Linked DNA regions of Homo sapiens: all the other regions are linked to region 3. Evidence: promoter capture Hi-C in 16 types of primary human blood cells and fetal thymus (Javierre and others, 2016). All regions are on one chromosome and are shown on one strand. The core of a region is centred on a gene start or on the middle of the fragment in contact, and the rest is flanking DNA. Distances in the headings are between cores, read along the strand shown.

The links. The method cuts DNA at HindIII sites, captures the fragments that hold promoters and counts their contacts. A CHiCAGO score of 5 or more calls a contact.
Region 1: a fragment that was not itself captured here is called in contact with the fragment with the promoter of UFL1-AS1 in region 3 in 1 of 17 cell types (non-activated CD4 T cells); the score reaches 5.6 in non-activated CD4 T cells.
Region 2: a fragment that was not itself captured here is called in contact with the fragment with the promoter of UFL1-AS1 in region 3 in 1 of 17 cell types (non-activated CD4 T cells); the score reaches 5.8 in non-activated CD4 T cells.

The regions. Positions count from the first base shown.
Region 1 is chr6:98,922,750-98,925,551 of GRCh38, forward strand. The region is part of intron 4 of FBXL4 (F-box and leucine rich repeat protein 4); the gene reads right to left. Among named protein-coding and RNA genes, the nearest start is that of FBXL4, 24 kb to the right of the region's middle. The HindIII fragment of the contact is 5,637 bases long and covers 1-2,802 here.
Region 2 is chr6:99,511,764-99,514,738 of GRCh38, forward strand. All of the region lies in intron 1 of USP45 (ubiquitin specific peptidase 45), which reads right to left. Among named protein-coding and RNA genes, the nearest start is that of USP45, 2.2 kb to the right of the region's middle. RefSeq lists an enhancer at 2,668-2,975. The HindIII fragment of the contact is 2,311 bases long and covers 551-2,861 here.
Region 3 is chr6:96,520,263-96,523,102 of GRCh38, forward strand. It overlaps UFL1-AS1 (UFL1 antisense RNA 1), which reads right to left and starts at 1,452. Exons shown (of 4, transcript XR_007059687.1): 1 at 1-1,452. UFL1 (UFM1 specific ligase 1) reads left to right here and starts at 1,544. Exons shown (of 19, transcript NM_015323.5): 1 at 1,544-1,688. The coding sequence starts at 1,612. RefSeq lists enhancers at 1-260, 261-1,132, 1,133-2,004, 1,149-1,338, 2,005-2,840. The HindIII fragment of the contact is 5,811 bases long and covers 1-2,840 here.

The DNA of each region.
Region 1 (2,802 bases), core at 188-2,687, 2.4 Mb after region 3:
ACTGGTTAATTTTTTTTGAACAGATGCATAAACTTTTATGAAATAATGGTGATGACAGGTAACATTGGCATTTTGTTTGTCTTTTTACTGTATGTTAATTTAGCAAAGTAAATAATCTGACAAGTCTATGAGTTCCCTAATTTTTATGATGATTATTATGTTACTAGTTTATTGTGACTGACTCCTCCCACCTGAACTCCATTCACATGCACATCCCCCATCTCATCAGTTCTATGTGCCACCCTGCAGATGGGCTTGCTTTGCTCCTAAGGGTTTACACTTACAACCTTCTTCACAGAACTACCTTGGGCTTCATCTAGGGAGTGACATGTGCCTAGAAGATTGACAGTCCCCCTTTCCCACCCTTCCAGCCCATGGTAAAAGTCTGGCTGGTGCAGGAGTATAAGGGCCCAGCTCTCTAGCAACTTTGCCTCCCAGCAGACTGGGACTTCACATGATATTGCATCCTTGCTTGATTTTTCCCATCATGCTTTCCCTACTCCTTTACTAGCTTCTCCTAGAGTATCTTCATAAAAAAATTTCCACAAAAATTTCCATAAAAATTGCACAGGAATAGTCACCTCAAGATATTCTTCTGGGAAGCTGGATCCAAAAAAATCTATAAAATCCCAAAGTCTAGAAACCCCTAGTTTAGATCTTAAGAATGTTACTCCCATGTCTCCAGTTGCCAACAGCTTATTCTCTGCATTCTTGGACTTTTCTCACTTCTTCAAACACCATGATCTTAGCTCATGATCTCACGTTCAAATGTGCTGTTGTCTCTCCTCCTTTCCTATCCACACTGGAGCCTCACTCAACCCTCAGGTCCCAGGTAAGTCACTTCCCCAGGGAAGCCTTCTCTGAGCCCACAGATTAGGTTCTCCCCTCTGCCAATACATGTTCCTCATGGTCCTCTTCTAGGCTGGCCTGTAAGCTCAAAAAAGAGCCATCTCTGTCTGACTCTCTACTTGGTTCCTAGCAGTGAACTGGCAGAGAGGGTGTTCAATAAATGTTTCTGATTGTATAAAAAATTCACCCAAATGTTAACAGTTACTGAATCTGGGCAGAAGAATTACAGATTTTTTTCATATATATTTTCCTTTTTTTTTGGTATTTTCTAGATTATTTTTAAACAATGAAACATCTATTGATTTCATAATCAGTAAAATTTAAAAAGGCTTTTTCTTATATCTTAATAATATATTGGTCACCTTTTTTTCTCTTAAAATGTAATGGTATTTTCAGTAGACTAAAGCTGAAAATCAGTAAAGAAAATTAGAGATACAGGTATAAATAAAGTTTTAACTTTAATCACAACCATATACCAGTAACTCTCAGTAACCCAAGAGCATGATTTGTACTTAAAATTAGTTATGCAGCTGTTAAGTTTTAGACTGGAGAAAACACATTACATGTTCCATTGATCTCCTCCCTAAATCTTTTCAGATTTTTGGAAAAAAGTAGGTAACTTTGTAAGAAGAATGTCAGAGTCCTAATAAAACAATTCTCATATAAGAAAAGATCCTGCCATGCACAGTGGCTCCCATCTGTAATTCCAGCACTTTGGGAGGCCGAGGCAGGCGGATCACCTGAGGTCAAGAGTTCGAGACCAGCCTGCCCAACCTGGTGAAACCCCATCTCTATTAAAAATACAAAAATTAGCCAGGCATGGTGGCACGCACCTGTAATCCCAGCCGCTCAGGTGGCTGAGGCAGGAGAATCTCATTAACCCGAGAGGCAGAGGTTGCAGTGAGCCAAGATCGTGCCACTACACTCCAGCCTGGGCGACAGAGTGAGACCCTGTCTCAAAACAAAACAAAAGATCCTACTCCATTTTTTCCTCTTAGGGAGAAAACAAAAATCTGATTTTAATTAAGGTATGCTGGCTTTCTGAGTTTAAAAAACGACTAATAACATTATTTGCAATGAATTATTAGGTAGTTCTGGAAAAAAAAGTAAAGATTATACCAGCAATCTCCAAGTTGAGCTGTACTCTGTATGTTTTCTGGCAGGCCCTGGAAGTATTCCCTTAGAGATGAGGGGACAGAGATATCAGAGGAGCTGCATGTTACGGAGGTAGCAGCTGACCTCTGCCCGCCTCCTCCTGCACTGGCAGCTGGCCATCCCTACAGTTGAACAGGTGCCCTGATCTGCTCTCAGGCTAGAATGAGAGCGGGAATTTTTATTTATTTTGTTCACTGCTCGCTGACACATCTCTAATACCTAGAACAACACCTAGCACATTAGGTAGGCACTAAAATATTTAATGAACGAGTGATTTAATAAAGTGATATGAAGTCCTAGAAACTGCTAAGATCCATGAGTAATAGAAAAAATGAGCAAATAATATGATCAGATAGTTAAAGGAAAAAGAAATATAAATGGCTTTTAAACATATGAAAAGATTTCAACCTCAGAGATAATAAAAGAATTTTAACAGTTAACATGAGATAACATTTTTCACCTATTAAATTGCAAAAATATTGAAATTTATAAACATACTCTGTAGGCGAGGCTTTGGCAAAACACCCATGTACATGCCCTGCTAGTGGGAATATAAATAGTACAGACTCTTTGGAGAGAAATTTGGCATTACATATGAAAATTACAACTGTTAAAAATTAAAATTAAATGTAACTAAGAATAAATTGTTAAAATGCAAAAAAAAAATGTTAAACATTACAAAATTATCAAATTATCCTTGGTTGAGTAGCCTTCTTCTAGGAAATTTATCCCACAGATATACTTGCACACATGCAAAGTGACTTATGATAAGGTCATTCCCTGCATTAATGTTTATAA
Region 2 (2,975 bases), core at 456-2,955, 3.0 Mb after region 3:
TATTAACAATTAGCTATGTTTGTTTTTATCTAAATATCAATATGTGTGTATAGAGAGACACATATATGTATGTGAGTGTGTGTATATATATATATATATATATATATATATATATATATATATACACATAGTTGAACTATTTGAAAGTTGTAGAGATCTTGACAGTTCATCCCTAAATACTTCAGCATGTATCTCTTAAAAATAAGCACATTCTCCTATATAACAATGTAATCATATCTAAGAAAATTAATAATTTTCTAATATCATCTCATATTCCATCATATTCTAATTTCCTTAGTTGACCCTAAATTGTCTTCTATAGCTGGTTTTTTGAAAAAGATTCAATCAAGGTTTGCACTTGATATTGGTTATGTCTCTTTAGTATCTTTTAATCTATTAACAGAACAGTTCTTCCAACCTGTTACTTGCCTAAGACTTTAGCTTTTTAAAGAGATCAGGCCAGTGCATGAGTCACCTTGAGGGTCTTGTTAAAATGAAAGTTCTGATGCAACAAGTCTGGCACAAGACCTGAGATTCTACCTACCTAAAAAGCTTCTAACTGAAGCCACTGCTGGGGGCCCATAGAATACTCTTTCGACAGCAAAGTTATATAATGTCTCACACTGAATTTGTCTCTTTCTTCATAGTGTTATTTACCTCTATCCCTTATATTTATTAAAAATTCAGTTAATTATCAAAGATTTTAGATACAAGCTAAGCATTTTTTAAAACTACTATATTTTGGAGTCTCTGTTAGAGTAGCTTGGCCTACCTTTTACTCTCCTGCCTGGTGGCTAAGCAACATCGCAATTTTCATGGTTGCTGACTTACTTCTCAATGATCAAGGTAATGAATCTTTCAATTCAGTACTAAATTCCAAATCTTGATTTATTCATTCCATAATTCACAATAAGGGAGCTTTCAAGTTTACCATTAAGTCCAACGGTCATCACTACTGAACTAAGTTGCAATAAATTAAGGGCTTCCGGGTTAGGAACATGTAAAAAGCCTCTGAGTTCCTTGAGCACTTCATCTCTACCTTCTCCCTCCAAACTTCCTCATCTACTCTCCCCTACAGTTCCACCTTATAAAATCACTAATTTAAGTATCCCCTTCTCTGACAGCAACTTCCCAGTTCTTCCAACTTGCCTGATCAGCCACTCATATTTTCCTATAGTGTCCAGGCTGACAAGAGGCTGCATCTCAACAAGTCCTTCCATGACCCTTACAGCAGGGCAGGGAGAAGTGGAAATGGCAAATGGAGAGCTGCTTCCTAAAGCAAGTCACATGGCACATTTAACTTCAAGCAGACATGGAGAGGGGTTGCCCATGTACAAAGAGTGCAGCATTACATGTACCCAAAAATAGGTGAACCGGAATACTTGTGCAGAGCCTTAAGGACTACATCACCTCTCTCGCAGAACCCAATCCTAGATGAACCCAATTAACCATTTTCTCCATGTCGGGAGAAAGTCTCTTAAGAAAGCAGACTAGGTCCATTATTATTCACTTCACCTTCTGGTCAACTTACATACTATCCACAGAGCCATTTCAAATCTTCTTCACTTTCCTCAAACCTCTAACCCCTCCAACTCCCAACTAACTTACCAAAAACTGATCTAGTCTTTTATAAGGGAAAAGAGACATAAGCAGACGGCAAATTTGATCTTTCTAACCCCAAATTTGCAAACCTACCTCCATCAATTTAAATTTGATGTCCTGAAAAGAGATAGGTATAACTAATAAAGTACAGGGAAAATGGCCTATGAGAAACTGATTATATTTTCTCGCTGTGGTACAGATAAGCTCTTGATAAAGATGAGCATTAACACAGATAATGCTAGCAAAATAATAAACAAAACCAGGCATTTGACCTACATACTGTAAGCAACCTGTGCCTTTTTTCAAAAACACTGACTCAAAATTAACTTGGTAATGTAGAGGCAATTTCTGATGATTTTTCTGCCATATGTAATGTCTAAACAGACAGAATCATTTGGTACAGTAACCCAGAATTCGGCAATTATTTATCTGTAGTTTTCCAATTTCCATTTGAGGCAAAAGGGCAAAATTAAAAGTCCAATTATTAGAGCTTCCAATACTTTTTATCATCAAAATTGTGTCTGGGCACTGGAGACTGGGAAGGATGGGAGTGGGGTGAGGAATGAGAAATTGCTTAATGGACACAATGTACATTATTCAGGTGATGGTTACACTAAAAGCCCAGTACCACTAGGAAATATATCCTCGTAAAAAAACGGCACTTATATCCCTTACCTTTATACAAATTTACAAAACTGTGGCTGAGGATCTCCGTGATCTCCCCCACATTTAGAGCTTTGATAGGATGCACGGGACTCAACATATAGTTGAATTCATGGCTGACATTTATTACACAATGCAGTATGGATATAAAGGCTCATCATAATAGAAAAAGACACAAGCGGAGTCTGGAGGAATCACGTGTAGGCTCCTTATGCGGTCTCCCTCCCAAGAGGGGTCAAACAAAACACATCCTTCCTCCATCAGTGAAAATGCAGCAGTTTCCGCGCAGGGAAGCCCATTAAAGACTTGGTGTCCCGGATTTTTACAGAAGCTGGTAATTTCGGCATAAAACATACTGTTCAGCACAAACCCAAAAATCTAAGTTCCCAGATGCCAAACAAGCACCAACATTGCAAGCAGTCCTTTCTAAGGATAGCAGTCTTAAGGCCTGCTATGTTAACTCTTTTTAGCACAAATATGTTCTGGCCATTTTTCTCATGCGGTTTTCCAAACAATAAACTTTACAGTTTTCAAGTCACCATCACTTAACACTTGTCTTTTCTCTAAAGTAGGATGTGCAACTAAGTTGTTTAGAAAGCTTTGTTTTTAAACAGGCTATGCAAAAAGCCCATATCCTTAAGAAAAAAAAATCCTTTTTTCCTACTCTTGGGCAATTATTTATGGGGGTTGGAAAGAGAAGAAAAGGTCAC
Region 3 (2,840 bases), core at 202-2,701:
ACTGGTGGGGGTGTCTTTTAACATGATAATGAATTATAATTAGCATATAATGAGCAGTGAAGACGACCAGAGGTCACTGTATTCATCATCTTGGTTTCTGGTGGGTTTTGGTTGGCTTCACTACTGCAACCTGTTTTATCGGCAAGGTCTTTATGACTTGTTTTTCCTGCCTGTGGACCTTCTATCTCACTCTGTGACTAACCTCCTGGGAATGCAGCCCAGTAGGTTTCAGCCTTATTTTACCCAGCCCCTATTCAAGATGGAGTTGCTCTAGTTCAAACGCCTCTGACAACTAGTCACCCTGCTGTGCTATCAAATACTTGATATTATTCATTCTTTCTAACTGGAATAATATTTTTTAAATAGTAAAGAGTGAGATACATGAACTCCAAATATCTGAGACAGGTCACAATCAACTCAGAAAGTTTATTTAGCCAAAGTTAAGAACTTGCATCCATGACATGGCACAGATCCTGACAACATGCGCCCAAGGTGGCTGGGGCACAGCTTGGTTTTACACATTTTAGGGAGACATGGGGCAGCAATCAATATATGTAAGATAAACATTGGTCTGATCTGGAAAAGCGGGGCAACTCCAAGTGGGGAGGAAGTTCCAAGTCATAGGTAGATAACAGACAGTTGCATTCTCTTATGAGCCTCTCCAAATGAGGCAATCAGACATGCATTTATCTCAGTGAGCAGAGGGGTGACTTTGAATAGAATGGGAGGCAGGATTCCCTAAGCAGTTCCCAGTATGACTTTTCCCTTTAGCTTAGTGATTTGGGGGTCCCATGATTTATTTTCAATTCATAAGATATAAAAAAGATATAAAAAAGAAAGGTACACCTGAGTAAATATCTACTCAACAGGGAAGCAGGATACATGTTCTCTTTGCTTTCCCTGTTTCCTTGATAGCCATGCACCTTATGTTTATATTCCTCATTATTTGATGAAGTTAATCATTGCAATAAGAGAAATACGAAAGACTCTAGAACTCTAGACACGAAAGCAATTATACAGCCTTTATGACACGCAAATTTATTCACTCTGTAAAAAAAAAGTAATTACTTTCGGTAGGGTCTCCCATGTATCTTCCAAAAGGCAGACTGCTCTGGGTGCATGTAAAAATTAACACGATACCCTATACAAAAGGGAATGCTCAGAGTTAACAGCTAGAGAAGAGAGGCGCCAATCTTAGACACAGGCTTATTCCTCCGCACCCTCCCCCAAAACAAATGGAGGACAGAAGAAAAAAGAAAAGTAGTTAATACAACTATTACTCTACGGAAATATTAGGGGTAGCGCAAACAAAGTTCTGACACTAAACTTTACTGAGCCCTGCATCCTGCCCACGACCCCCCCAGAAACACCTACGCACCACTCTCCTAGCCGCCGCAGCCCCGCCAGTCTCGCCGGGAGGAACCCCCAGCGCCGCGGTACAACCACGGCACTTCCGCCCGCCCCCCGCGCCTCGGGCGCAAGCGTTTGGTGTGTCTGCGTCGGGGGCGGAGCCTCTTGTCCCTCTGCGCGGCCCGTTCCGCCTCTCTTCTCCCACCGCCTGTCGGCTGACGTGTCTGCAGTTCCTCCGCGTCTACTGCGAGTCAGGCCGTGATGGCGGACGCCTGGGAAGAGATTAGGCGGTTGGCGGCCGACTTCCAGCGGGCGCAGTTCGCCGAGGCCACGCAGAGGTGCCCGACCCTCCCTCTCCTTTGTGGAGCCCAAATTAGGCCGTGGGCGGACACGCCTGTATCTGGGACTTTAGACCCGCGGCCCTGCATCCCGGGTCTTCTCGCTGCTTGTCACCATTCTCTCCTCCTCCCTCTGTCCCGAGCCTGGATCGCAGTTCCAAGTCCAAGGCTCGGCGGGAAAGTCCTCAGCCTAGGACGCCCTGGAGCCCCCCAGCCCAGCTGCAGCGAAATGCTGGCGCGCCCCGCCCCACCATGGACGGGGCCGGTGATTTCGAGCTGCCTTTATTGAGCATTTCTTTGACCCTCCCTCACCCACCAACCACCAAATCACTGTGACATCTTGGCTATTATACACTTCCTGATCTAGAATGAGCTCGAAAGGAGAGGCTAACCCCCGCCCCCAGTACAGTACTTGGCAAATAGTATGTTGATCCTTAAAACTTCTTGCCCTTTTATCTCTCGTAACAGACCTAGGGCTAGACCCCTGACCCCATCTGTTATTCAGGGCACTGACATTTTCTACAAGCCCACTAACCTTTGGAGGATGTGTCCAGAGGAGCCTAACTCTGCTTTTTAAAAATAACGCTAATAGAAGCCTTTCTATTCTTTGACTACTTCCTACCTGCGATGTTTTATTCCTTTTGAGCCGGAAGACAGCAATCCCCTTATGCTGTATTTTCTACCACTGATAGCAAACTCGTAACTGCATGGGTAACTAACGTGGGTAAAAGTTATGGTTTCACTAGGCCACATCCCCTGCCTGCTTGCAGACCATGTGTGTAAGTGAGGCAATTATGCACTTAATTTAAAAGAAAATTCTGATTAAACTGGAAATTAGGGCATTTTTTGTTTTGTTTTGTTTTGTTTTTTCTTTTTTCCTACCTAAATAAATGTCTTCAATTTTCCCTTCAGATTTGAAGATTGGAAGCAGGCCTGTAAGAGACAACAGACTTGAAATTTGTGATGGGATGATGTGTACCAATTAAATAAATGATTTAAGCATATGTAAACCTACTTACTCTGAAAGGTTTTTTTTTAACTTATTGAATCAGTTAGTGAAAAATACAGATATTGTGATGTAGAAGTTAGTGACTAAACAAACTTTTTAAAAGCCTGTTTTCATACATTGTATTAATTTTATTGAGCGCCAAT